3 separate regions of the Homo sapiens genome follow, and regions 1 and 3 are each linked to region 2. Evidence: promoter capture Hi-C in 16 types of primary human blood cells and fetal thymus (Javierre and others, 2016). All regions are on one chromosome and are shown on one strand. The core of a region is centred on a gene start or on the middle of the fragment in contact, and the rest is flanking DNA. Distances in the headings are between cores, read along the strand shown.

Region 1 (3,744 bases), core at 623-3,122, 320 kb after region 2:
AGGGCGAGTGTGGGATCCTAGGCCCAAGCTCTTCAACTCTAAAACCAATCACACACAAGATCCTGTTTTCATCTCAGGGAGAGATTTCTAAGTCATCTGGGGCTTGAGGGCTTATTTAAGGGTGGTCAATGGACATATTCCTGGACCCACACAAAAGTAGAGCAGCTGCTGATACCCTAATTGGACAGCCCCAAACGCAGAACAGAACAAGTCACTTGTAGACTTGACCTCCCCTATTTTGTCCCCCGAGATGGTAGAACCATGTCCATGTTTACAATATGACAACTGTGGAATAATTGGGGTTCTTAGGGAGAGATTTGCATAATTTTAAAGACATCCTTTCATCTGGACCAGAGGTCAATCAACTTATGTCAAGTGCTACACAGTAAATATTTTGGTTTAGCACGCCATACTGTGTCACAACTGCTCAATTCTGCCATCACAGCACAAAAACAGCCACAGATAATTTGTAAATGAAGGAACATGGCTGTGTTCCAATAAAACTTTATGAAAACAGTGAGCTGAATTTAGCCTACAGGCCATAATACGCCAATCCTGCTCTAGACAATAAAACTGATCCTTACCAGTATGTTAGCAGAAGAGGGTCAGTCAGCTCTGTTTCCATGCCTGACATGTATCAAAGATCTGGGACCTCTTCCCAGTGGAGGCACTAGGGTTGCTTGTTTAAAGGGTGCTTGAACAACTAACCAGCAAAGAGATGTCTGATGCCAAATGGGCAAGATCAAATACTGGAATGCTAAAACACAGCTGGAATCTAAGAAGGGAAGAGGGCTTCTCTGACCATTTTCATACCAGCAACAATTTAGGCAGAATTATAAACATCTATTTATCGAGTGACAATACAAACCGAAGGAGATCCTAGTAGAGATTAGGGGTCAGTTAAAATCAACTAGCCACTGCCACTTGTCATCTACATAGCAAAGGCTTTATTTAGCACAGGACTAACGTGAAAAGTAGACCCAGAGATGAAAAGGCTGTCAGGAGACAGGGGGCTGGTGTCCACCTGGTATCTACTGTCTTATGCAACATAGAAGATTACCTTTTAGTGTAGTGCTCCTACCTCAGTTTGTAGAATCTGGTGTTTCTATGCAGTGAGTGATAGCCTCAACTCTGACCTTTCATATTCACATTAGAGACAGATGCAGTATTCCATATCCTAGTATGTTCCTTGTGTCTAGAGTTCTAACAGTACAGTAGTCTATGCCATTTCTAACAGCTAAATTTTGCTCTGTAAACAGAAACTTTAGGGTTGTTTTTTTCCAGGGCTCATCCCAGAAAATATGGATAGAAAAGTTTCCTTCAGTTTGCTTTTCAAATAGTGCTTGAATAATAAACCTCCTTTGATTGGTGACTAGTCTTTTTTGGTATATCTCCACCTTTAAAAATTGTTCAAGTTTTTAACCTGGTTATACTGTGTTCTAACATGTCTCTCATTTTCTCTCAAAATTAGTTTATCTCATTGTAGAAAAAGCAATGGTTTTCATAGCTTCATCTATCAGGAAATAAAACTCTTACTAAAGAATAGCATACTGCATCTTTAAGCAGTAGAGGGTAAACTACCTGCAAATGTGAATTTCTTAGATACATTTAAAAATATATAGTTGTTAACCTTCTGTGTGCCAAAAACTCTTAAGTTACATTTTCCTTCAAAGCAATGTACTTTTTTCTACATATGCAGTATGTAGTTAGCATAAAATCATTGGTGCCATGAAGATTATTTTTAAACTTAAATAAATATTTAAATATCATGGAAGAGTGGGCTCTTTCTTTAATAATAGCCTGTCTTACTTTTCCTCCCTTAAAGTTACTAACACATAGATAAAAGGATACTGGTGGGATTTACACAGCTGACTACTATTCACTTGGATCATATAACATAATTATTTTGCTTGTATCCACCTATTATCCTTGTCCTTACCCCCAGATAAATACTGTTAGAAACTGAGAAGCGGCCAGGCACAGTGGCTCACGCCTGTAATCCCAGCCCTTTGGGAGGCCAAGTCGGGAGGATCACGAGGTCAGGAGTTCAAGACCAGCCCGACCAACGTGGTGAAACCCCCGTCTCTACTAAAAATACAAAAATTAGCCAGGTGTGGTGGCGGGCGCCTATAATTCCAGCTACTCAGGAGGCTAAGGTAGGAGAATCGCTTGAACCTGGGAGGCGGAGGTTGCAGTGAGCTGAGATCACACCACTACACTCCAGCCTGGGTGACAGAGCAAGACTCCACATCAAAAAAAAAAAAAAAAAAAAAAACTGAGAAGCTATATATGTAATAATTTTAAAGTGAATTGGGTATTTTTCTGATGAGGAAAACCAAGAAGACTAAGTGATTTTCCCAAGATTACATAGTGGTAGAGTCCAAACTAGAACCCAGATTGTCCACCTTCTGGTCTGCTGTTCTTACTCAAGCCTGGAGTAAGTGGGAGCACAGAAAATACTTTCTAAGAAGGAACTACAATGATACCACCACCACATATTTACAAAATATATCCCTATAGCATTATCTCATCTGATTATGTAACCATCACTCTGTGGCTACGGAATTGGAAATGGTCTTCTAAATTCCATGAGGATAAGAGGTGATAATGGGGGCTTGGTCCACTGTGCTAGCTTCTTACCTAATCTTTGTCTTTTCAATTCTGCCTGCCCTCCACTCTCCCATTTCTGTTGCCAGATCATCCTCCTAAACACCAATCAGGCTATGTTACCTCCAAATTTCAGAGGTACCCACTACCTAAAAAATGCTATCTAGCACCCTATCCCCAGCGGAATTTTTTGTTTTTATGACATAAGATTTTGCTTGAAGTGATCCAAAGAGTAAAAAGCACAAGAAACACTGGACCTGGGTGGCTTCCCGTGGCCCTGCCGATTCACAGCAGCCTCCCTTCTGCTGACAGCTTATCAAGAACTACCTGTGCACACACCCCTGTAGGACTCTAGTCCCTACTCCCTCTGCTTTGGGTTCCTCTAGCACAATCTAGCTCCTCTGCACCTGAACACACTTTTGGTTTTAGCTCATGAACAGGCTTCCTCTTCAGACCCCTACGACCTGCTGATGGAATGGAGTAAAACAAGCAAAGCACCCTTTTAATAAATTTCCTCTTGCCCAGTTTCCATTTTGGGGAAAATGTATCATAAAATGTTTTGTTCTTCAGCTCCGTGTAAGTGTACTAAATGTTATCTTCCTCATAAATTCTACCTTTTCATTTGAAAATCCAAGTATTTACAGCCAAATAAGTCAAAATACAATCTGCTGTCTTGTTATTTCTAGCCATCAACACCCTACTAAAAAGCAGGGGGAAATGTACTAAGTCAGAAAGGACCGCCCAATAGGACATTGAAGTTTTTGGAATCTGAAGTTAGAGGGCATATATTTCCTCTTCTCAGATTGATTCAGAAGGCATGTGTGTCTTCTCCCCCACCCTACCCCATGTACTGTACATTAGCTGAAAGGATTTAAATCCTTGTATCCATAGCCCTAAGGCTCCCTGTTTTCCTGGAGAACTCCCCTTGCAAAATCTTCTTGGTGGAAAGGAAGCTCAAAGACCAGAATACTAAAATAGGACTTAAGCAACTCAGATTCTATTAATTCCTAATCATTTGTGGTCTCTCCTAGTCTGACAAAGTCTCTGACAACCAAAAATGAGAATTGTCTGCTCCTTCCTTAAAAGTTACATAACAAAAGCCTGGGTATCTTAAAAAAAAAAAAAAAAAAAAACTCA
Region 2 (3,959 bases), core at 874-3,373:
TTCATTATCTTCTTACAGCTACATAACAAAGCTGAGCTTTGTAGAATATCACTTTGGCATATTAATAATTTTACTTGTCTCCAAGATCTTCCTGAAATTTTGAGTTTCTTCACAGGTCTTCTTCCTCTGGGATTTAAGTGCTGTAGAACACCTGTCAATTCCATTTACTTCAGTTCATCAATTTTTTTTTTTTTAGACCGAGTCTTGCTCTGTTGCCCAGGCTGGAGTGCAGTGGCACAATCTCAGCTCACTGCAATCTCTACCTCCCGGGTTCCAGCGATTCTCCTGCCTCAGCCTCCCCAGTAGCTGGGACCACGGGCGCATGCCACCACACCCGGCTAATTTTTGTATTCAGTTCAACACTTATTGAATACCTATTATGTTTCAGGCATCAGACTACCTGCTGAAGCTACAAAGTAGTGGAGCGCATGCCTGGTTTTATGCCTGGAACACTTGACTTACTAGTTCTAGACTCATAACTAACTCCATCCAAATTGCATTGAAAAGAGAATCCTGCTCCTATGGCTATTAAATGCCACAAAGGAGAATGCAACCAATTAAGAGCAGTCCAGGTTACTAAGGTGATAGAAAGAAAAAGGGGGAGGGAGAGGGGGAGGAAGAGAGAGAGAGAGAGAGAGAGAAAGAGAGAGAGAGAGAGAGAATGAAAGAGAATGAATCTCCCCATGCAAAAAAAAAAAAAAAAATTGGGGAAAATATTGGAATCCAAAGACACTAGGGAAGAAGCATACTTTAAAGGCGGGATAGTTTTCTAGGCTAATGTAGAGTTTCATTTTTGTTACACATTATACCTATAAACAAGAACAGTGCAAATGAAAGTAATAGGAAATTATGCCTATTTCATTATTTTAAATTAATATATTTATTACAGCATTAATGTTCTATGTTGACACGATTATTTTTTTTTTTTGAGACGGTGGCTTGCTCTTGTCCCCCAGGCTGGAGTGCAATGGCCGTGATCTTGGTTCACTGCAACCTCTGCCTCCTGGGTTCAAGCGATTCTCCTGCCTCAGCCTCCCGAGTAGCTGGGATTACAGGTGCGTGCTACCATGCACGGCTAATTTTTTTGTATTTTTAGTAGAGACGGGGATTCACCATGTTGGTCAGGCTGGTTTCGAACTCCTGACATCAGGTGATCCGCCCGCCTCGGCCTCCCAAAGTGCTGGGATTACAGGCTTGAGCCACTGCGCCCGGCCGACATAATTATTTTATAACATTTCCTCACATCAAAAATCTTTGAGGGAGAATATCTCTTATTGAAGTTCTGGTAAAAAACCTTGAAGTCTGTAAATTTGGGGTGACAAAGAGAAGGAGACAATTCTTTGTGATGTATACCTCCTGACATACTATGTTGTTCTATTGAGAAAGTCTGAAGACATAATTTCCAGTTCTAAAAGTGCAAGGAGAAGATTCATTGCTTCCTCTGCTCCCTACCAGCTGAAGGAGCAGTCTCCTTTTGTCTTCTGAAATAAAAAGGAGGCAAAGGGTGTTAGAGTGGAGGGTTTTTTAGGGGATTAAACCTGGGTACTTCAGAACCTCTGAGGTCCCTTTAGCTTTTATTTAAGTAGCTCCTGTTTCCCAAAATAAGAGGGCTGGAGCACAGAGGCCAGACGGGCCAACTTAGGGTACAGCACAGGTCGGGGGCAGTCGCCCTATCTGGAGCGAGAGGTATCCGCATTCTGCAGGTGCAGGGACTGTGATCCAGCACCCTGCCGCCTCCTCGCTCCGGCTCCCAAGAGGGCGGGAACCGCGGTGTTGCAGGGTGCGAGGCTTGGCTTCGGAAACGCAGATCAAGTGTATTTCAGGCGGCAGACATCAATCCAGTTGGGTGCTCACACCTGGCCCGGGGGAGGGGAAACAGCATCCATAGGAACCACGGGGCGGAGAGGAACCCCTCGTTTGGGACGCTAGAGGGCTGCTCCGGCTTGACTAGGTCCGACTGCTTTTCTGTGATTGCTTCTTTATCCCGCCCATCATCCCAGTACTCTATCTCGATTGGCTTTTCGGTCTGCCACTCGGTTCCGCCGCGCTGACCCCCATTGGCCCCCTCCAGTTGAGGCCCCGCCCCGCGAGCTGGGCACGGGCACTGGGGCGCCGAGGAGACAGAGCCCGGCGCTTGATCTGGGCTGGGGGGAGGCGGTGGCGGCTGAGGGAAGGAGGAGGATAAGGAGGAGGAACGAGGCCAGCAGGAGGCAACGGCAGCGACGGGGCCGGGGTGATGGTGCAGGTGCCTGGGGTCGGTGCGGAGCTGCCGGGCTGAGGGACGCCTGGTCCAGGGTCCGCAGCGCCGCCGCGTCGCTCCCGGGCGGGCGGGCGGGAAGATGCTGAGCAGGTTGATGAGCGGCAGCAGCAGGAGCCTGGAGCGCGAGTACAGCTGCACCGTGCGGCTGCTGGACGACAGCGAGTACACCTGCACCATCCAGGTCAGCGCCGCGCCGCCCCGCCCCGCCCGCGGGACCCCCTTGTCCCCCAAGTCTGGTCAACTTGGCCGGCGGCGGCCGCCGCCCAGGGGTCGCCCCAGCCCCAGCGCCGTGCTTTGTCCGTTCCTGGTTGCGGCGGACCGCCCTAGTGCAGGGCGTCTTCACCGGAGCCCCTGCCGGAGCCCTGGCACCCGGTGTGTCACCGCCGCCGCGGGGCGAGTCTCCGCGTCCCACACCCCTAAGTCCTACCCTGCTCTCCCTGGGTGAGGGCGCCCCGTCCTGGTTCCTCGAGCCCGCCCGAGTAAGGTGCACCTTTCCGGGGCGCCCGGAGGGAGGCGGGTAGGGCGGTAGGCTCCTAGCCCGGCCGCCCCGTCGGGGGCGCAGGCTTTGGCTCTCTGCCCGGGCAAGGACGTATGGCTGGCTTTTCTTATCTTTCTTGGGTTGGAAGGATAATGGTTTATGTCATAATTCCTCCCCCCACCATTTGTGAGTCAGAGCTTTCAGAAGGTAGAACTGAACGCGCAGCCCATGCGGAGTGGCCTATTGAAGGAAGCCCAGTCCTCTGGGTTTTAGAGATTTAGGCCCCCTCCCGCCTTTTGATCCCCAAATTTTATTGTGTTGGGCGGTTCTAGGGGACGTGAGGTAAAGATTTAGCAACAAGTCCCAGCGATTTGGGGCTTGGAAGTGGCCAGGAAGAATCGGCGACTTAGGAAAAACGCCAACAATACGGTAATGCTCAACAGCATTTCTTTCAGAACCTGGTATTTTTGAAGGGATTTTTACAACCTCTTGCTCATGTTCCTTCGCTACTGCTGTGTGCACGTCAGGAGTAGTAGTCTTTCCCGGGAATGCAGTCACAGCCCTCTCTCCTCCCTTATGAAAAAGTCAGAGATTGAAAACATTGACAATGCTCCCGTGTTTAGTTCATCAGCCAGGAGGATCCTGCGCTCATCGCCGGAAGCTGCTCTTTGTGGAGAAGCTAATTGAGCTGGACCCAGAGGGGTCTCACCTGATCCTTTGCCTTTGCAGCAGGAAAACAGGAGGAGGCTTCTGGCTCAGATGTGACAGACAAAAACTGTCGGCCTGGGTCCTACCCTCAGTGTCTTCTTGCCCCCCGCCTCCTTATTTATTTATTTTTGCTGACAGTGCTCAATCGCGGAAAATAGCGGTGTGTGAGAAAGACACTGGGTAGTGTATGAGAGCAGCTGGTCTCTGCTGACTCCGTGCTCAGTTCAGCCTTCTCCTCACTTTCCCTTTTCTCCCTCCCCTCGAAACCAGCTCTGGGCATAAGTGCTGACTGCTGCCAAAGATCCATGAGGGTAGAGAAAGAGCACAAAATCTCTTTTTAAGGCTACTTAAATACAGACTAAGCAGTCATAAAGATGCTAGCCATCAAGTGAAAGGATTTTTGTAGTTGAATATGATAGAGAGATGCTCTGTATTATTTCCTTGCTGAATGAGTGGAATACTACTTTTTGTTCCTATTGTATCATTGTGCCATGTCCAGTTTTTTTTTGCTTT
Region 3 (3,878 bases), core at 492-2,991, 310 kb after region 2:
CCCAGTAGTTTTTCCGTTTTGCAAATGTAACCAAGGCTGAGAGCAGGAGGTGGATGTGGAGGTGAGGTCTAGGCCGTGCCATGTACAGTAACCATGTCACTTCTTCTGATTTGTGTCTGTCCCACGGGTGATGTACCCCAGTATCCTGTTTGCCTCTTTTACTGCAGCCATTCACTGGGCTGGTGGCTTCAAGGATTTTTCTACAATAACCCCTAAGCCCCTTTCCTGGTCAGTACGCTGCATGACTGTTCCATGTAATCTGTTCTCTCTCTTTGGTATGTTGCCCTGCCCCGCTCCCTGAGATTGTTTGATATTTGTCTGCATTAAACTGCATTTTCCATCCAGTGGCACAGTCACCTGAAAGACTCAACTCCCTCAGAACCTGGTTGCATTGTTTCTCATTATTTGCTGTATCTTGAACTTTGGCCTCATCAGCTACCTGTGGCATCTTACGTTTGACAGTCCCATCCAGATAATGCACCTGTGTTATGAACCCAATCCTGAAATGACCCCAGATACTCTACCTAGACTCACTTTCCATGCAAATGTTTCCCTTTTACAGCCACTGTTGATAAGCCCGAAATCCTCCTGTCACCCTATTACTATAGTGTGATTGACCAGAAAACTGTGGATTGAACTGTTTCAACAACATTCTCTAAGGCCACTGCGCTGCTGTCTTGTTTCAGTTCTGATTTTGGCTAAAATTGTGTCTGTGCCTGGAGCCCCTTCCAGTTGGGGTGGGCTGTGCATCTACAAGATTTAGCTGTGAACAAGCAGCCCACAATGAGGTGACAGGCACTATCTTTGTGCTTCTAGGAATGAGGTGACCAAGCTGAAATTTGAAGGAAAGACTTTCTATTTATACGTAAGTCAGAAAGAGGTGAGTGCTGGCTTCCTTCTCTTCAAGGAGGGCTGGGGTGATGGGATGCTTCCTGGTGGCCAGAGCCAAGCTTGAGGGACCCCAGTAGAGCCAAGCTACCCACATACTAAGCCAAGACCAAGGTCAGGACCTGGAGGTACAATATGAAGGAGCGGGAAGGCCCTGGAGCACAGGACTTCCTCAGGGATGCTATTGACACCCAGAGCTTCCACTCAAGAGATCTTTACCTCCAGGAAATGCAAAGGAAGGCTCTTTTTCTTTCGTGTATATGGGAATTCCAGAGGCAAGGGCAACTTTCTCACCAAGAGCTCTCCTGGTTCAATTTGTGCCACTTTTGTGCCAGCTGAGACTTACCCTGATTGGACTTGCCAAGTATGATGTGATGCACTTAACTGAGCTCTGCCTCAGTGGGTCCCACAGGCCCTCCCCTCTAACTAGCCAGCTGCCAGGGCCTCTAACAGCTCTGGGGTCAGGGTCCTCGCCTACTTCACCCTTTGCTTCTCCATCCACACTCAGCCATATCAATGTGGAATTTTTTGCAGGAAAAGAAAATTATTCTTACATATTTTGCTCCAACTCCTGAAGCGTGTAAGCACCTCTGGAAATGTGGAATCGAGAACCAAGCCTTCTACAAGTGAGTGGATACATGTGATGGGGACTGTCTTTCTTAGAGCCAGAGTCAGAGAGAGTCGGTGACAGGAGGCCAAGTGCCCAGGAACTTGGGGCGGGGTAGCTGGAAGTGGGCAAGAGCTTGACAGTTACTGAGAAGCCAGGTTGAGGCCAAAGGCAAGAGCTTTGCCTACCAAAGGGATTTTGTAAAGAATGTGGGGCTTTTGTGTTGTTTTCTTCGGTTAAGAAAGTGGTTATAAAAGCATTAGGTAGTGAAGAAATGGCCCACTGAGGGCATGATGCCAGGTAAAATATGTCTCACTAAGCCCTTTGGTCTTGTTTTAAAAATATACCGTAATGATTTATGCTTTACTAAGATGTATCTGAATGAGGTCAAGGCAAGACAGAGTGTGGTATATTCTACCTGGGGTGAGCCCTGCTCTCACCAAATGCCCCTGATTGGCCAGGTCCCAGTTCCAGTAACCTGAAGGATCCTGGAGAGATGAGAACTGCTCTGGGATGAGTGGCACCATACTTCTCTCCAGGGAAGATTCTGCTGCCTGCTGGCTGCTATGGGATGCTGGCTGGCAGAACTGGGTCCTCCCAGTTGCCAGGGCCACAGCCCCAGAAGCTGTTTCTTAGACAGGCATTCTGAATTACTTAATTCCCATTATGTGTTTATACCAGAACCAAGGATTCACTGAATCGGCAGCCTTTCTTCTCCTGAATATACTCGGGAGACTTTGGCATGGTCACACTTCCCTCCTGTTCAGTCCCTACTGTCCATAGAAAGTCAAGAAAACATTTATTTTCTTTTGCTACCACCCTCCCTTTGCCTGTGAGGATGTAATCCAGGTTTGGCCAGTTACCTGAACCTAGAGAGAAGCAACTTGAGATGCAAGCTCCTGCCTGTGGGACTGAGGAGCAGCCCAAGAACTGGGGTCCCACGGGTCTCCGCAGCAGAGAGAGGAAGGCACTAGCCGACAGGGGCCTGCTCCACACTGAACTATCCCTGCCCTGGGAATGGCATATGTGGAAGCTTTCCCTTTCTCTCTACCAAAGGGTAGAGAAGAAGCAAACAGAAGCAATCTCCTTGCCTCTTGTCTTTTCATGCCTTCAGCAGCATTTCTTAAGGGCTTGGTTTTCCCATCTGTGTCACGGAAACAGAAGTGTTGCTTCTGAACCTGTGACCTCACTCAGTTTCTGAGTCTTCCCACGAGTAGATCTCCCTACCCACCCAGCCCTGCCTGCACCCACACTGGAAATGGAGGTCATTTTTCAGTTTTCCATTGCCTCCTTAATGTTCTCATCAAACGGTAAAAGCCTGGGTGAGATCCCCAGGTATGTCAAGTCTCTGGCAGCAGCGCTTTGGCCTTGCCCTCAGTGTCTCTCACATACAGATCCCTAGTCCTGCCTTTGGCCTAGTGCCATGGCAGGAGCCCAGTCAGATGCAAGAACATGCCCAGGCTCCAGTAAGCAGCTCGGATGTCCTGGAGCCCTGAGACGGGCAGGGATGGTGTCTCCCAAGAACTGTTCATGGATTGTGGAAACAGCTCCTACTCACTGCTCATAGCACAGGTTTCAGACTCACATAGGTTACTGGTTGGATCAGTACCATAGGCACCTGGGCATGTTACAGGTGGATCCCATCTTAGGAGGCTTCTCTCTGAGCTGCTGTGCCCAAGCTGAGAGAGCTAATGGGCTCAGTGAAGTCACCCAGGAGAAAGTATTACAGAGCTCCACATCGGCTGTCTGCAGCTTCAAACGAGATATAAAATAGATATCCTGGGGGAGGGAGAAAGGCTCCAAATTCAAATACATGACGGACTTTTATTAAAGTTAAGCTAGTTTCTTCATCGCAGGATTTCTGTCTTTACTGTGGTCATGTATTTTAGGACCCTCCAAAAGGGAGATGGAACAGGAAAGACAGCCCCCACCCTCTTCTCCACCCACAATTACCCAGACATAGACACAAAATCAAATACTGGGACTGGAAAGGAGACCCCTAAGGTCCAGTAGTCCCAGCTCTATCATTTTATAAAAAGGGTGAGGCTAAGAGAGAAGGAAATTTGCCCGAGGTCACACTGCTAATAAGTGACGTGGCTGAGATTAGATGGGCATTCTATTATTCCCCAAGACCATCCACCCGAGCATGTATTCTCTCAGTCCCCCTGGTAAAACCTATGAAGCATTTTGGGGGAGCCTTCACTCTCCTGACACTAAAATGGGTTTCCATGTTGACAGTCCTGGGCACTGAGGCAGGAGAGCAGCTGGCTGTGAGCACAGCCCCCAGATCCTAAATGAGAGTCAGAGACAAATGTGGACTATGAAGGGCTTTTTTCCTGAAGTTTCAAGTAGCCTTTGGAAGAAGCTGGGGATGTGCTGCCTT

Evidence for each region. The method cuts DNA at HindIII sites, captures the fragments that hold promoters and counts their contacts. A CHiCAGO score of 5 or more calls a contact.
Region 1: a fragment that was not itself captured here is called in contact with the fragment with the promoter of FRMD5 in region 2 in 1 of 17 cell types (M1 macrophages); the score reaches 5.6 in M1 macrophages.
Region 3: a contact is called between a fragment that was not itself captured here and the fragment with the promoter of FRMD5 in region 2, in 3 of 17 cell types (endothelial precursors, megakaryocytes and erythroblasts). The highest score is 6.8, in endothelial precursors.

The regions. Positions count from the first base shown.
Region 1 is chr15:43,868,789-43,872,532 of GRCh38, reverse strand. FRMD5 (FERM domain containing 5) reads left to right here. Exons shown (of 14, transcript NM_032892.5): 14 at 1-1,769. Among named protein-coding and RNA genes, the nearest start is that of WDR76, 44 kb to the right of the region's middle. The HindIII fragment of the contact is 4,197 bases long and covers 1-3,744 here.
Region 2 is chr15:44,193,435-44,197,393 of GRCh38, reverse strand. FRMD5 (FERM domain containing 5) reads left to right here and starts at 2,123. Exons shown (of 14, transcript NM_032892.5): 1 at 2,123-2,441. The coding sequence starts at 2,340. RefSeq lists silencers at 103-338, 2,573-2,622, 2,733-2,792 and enhancers at 1,623-1,722, 1,238-1,737, 1,738-2,239. The HindIII fragment of the contact is 9,344 bases long and covers 1-3,959 here.
Region 3 is chr15:43,885,811-43,889,688 of GRCh38, reverse strand. FRMD5 (FERM domain containing 5) reads left to right here. Exons shown (of 14, transcript NM_032892.5): 9 at 817-880; 10 at 1,423-1,514. Among named protein-coding and RNA genes, the nearest start is that of WDR76, 61 kb to the right of the region's middle. The HindIII fragment of the contact is 1,578 bases long and covers 953-2,530 here.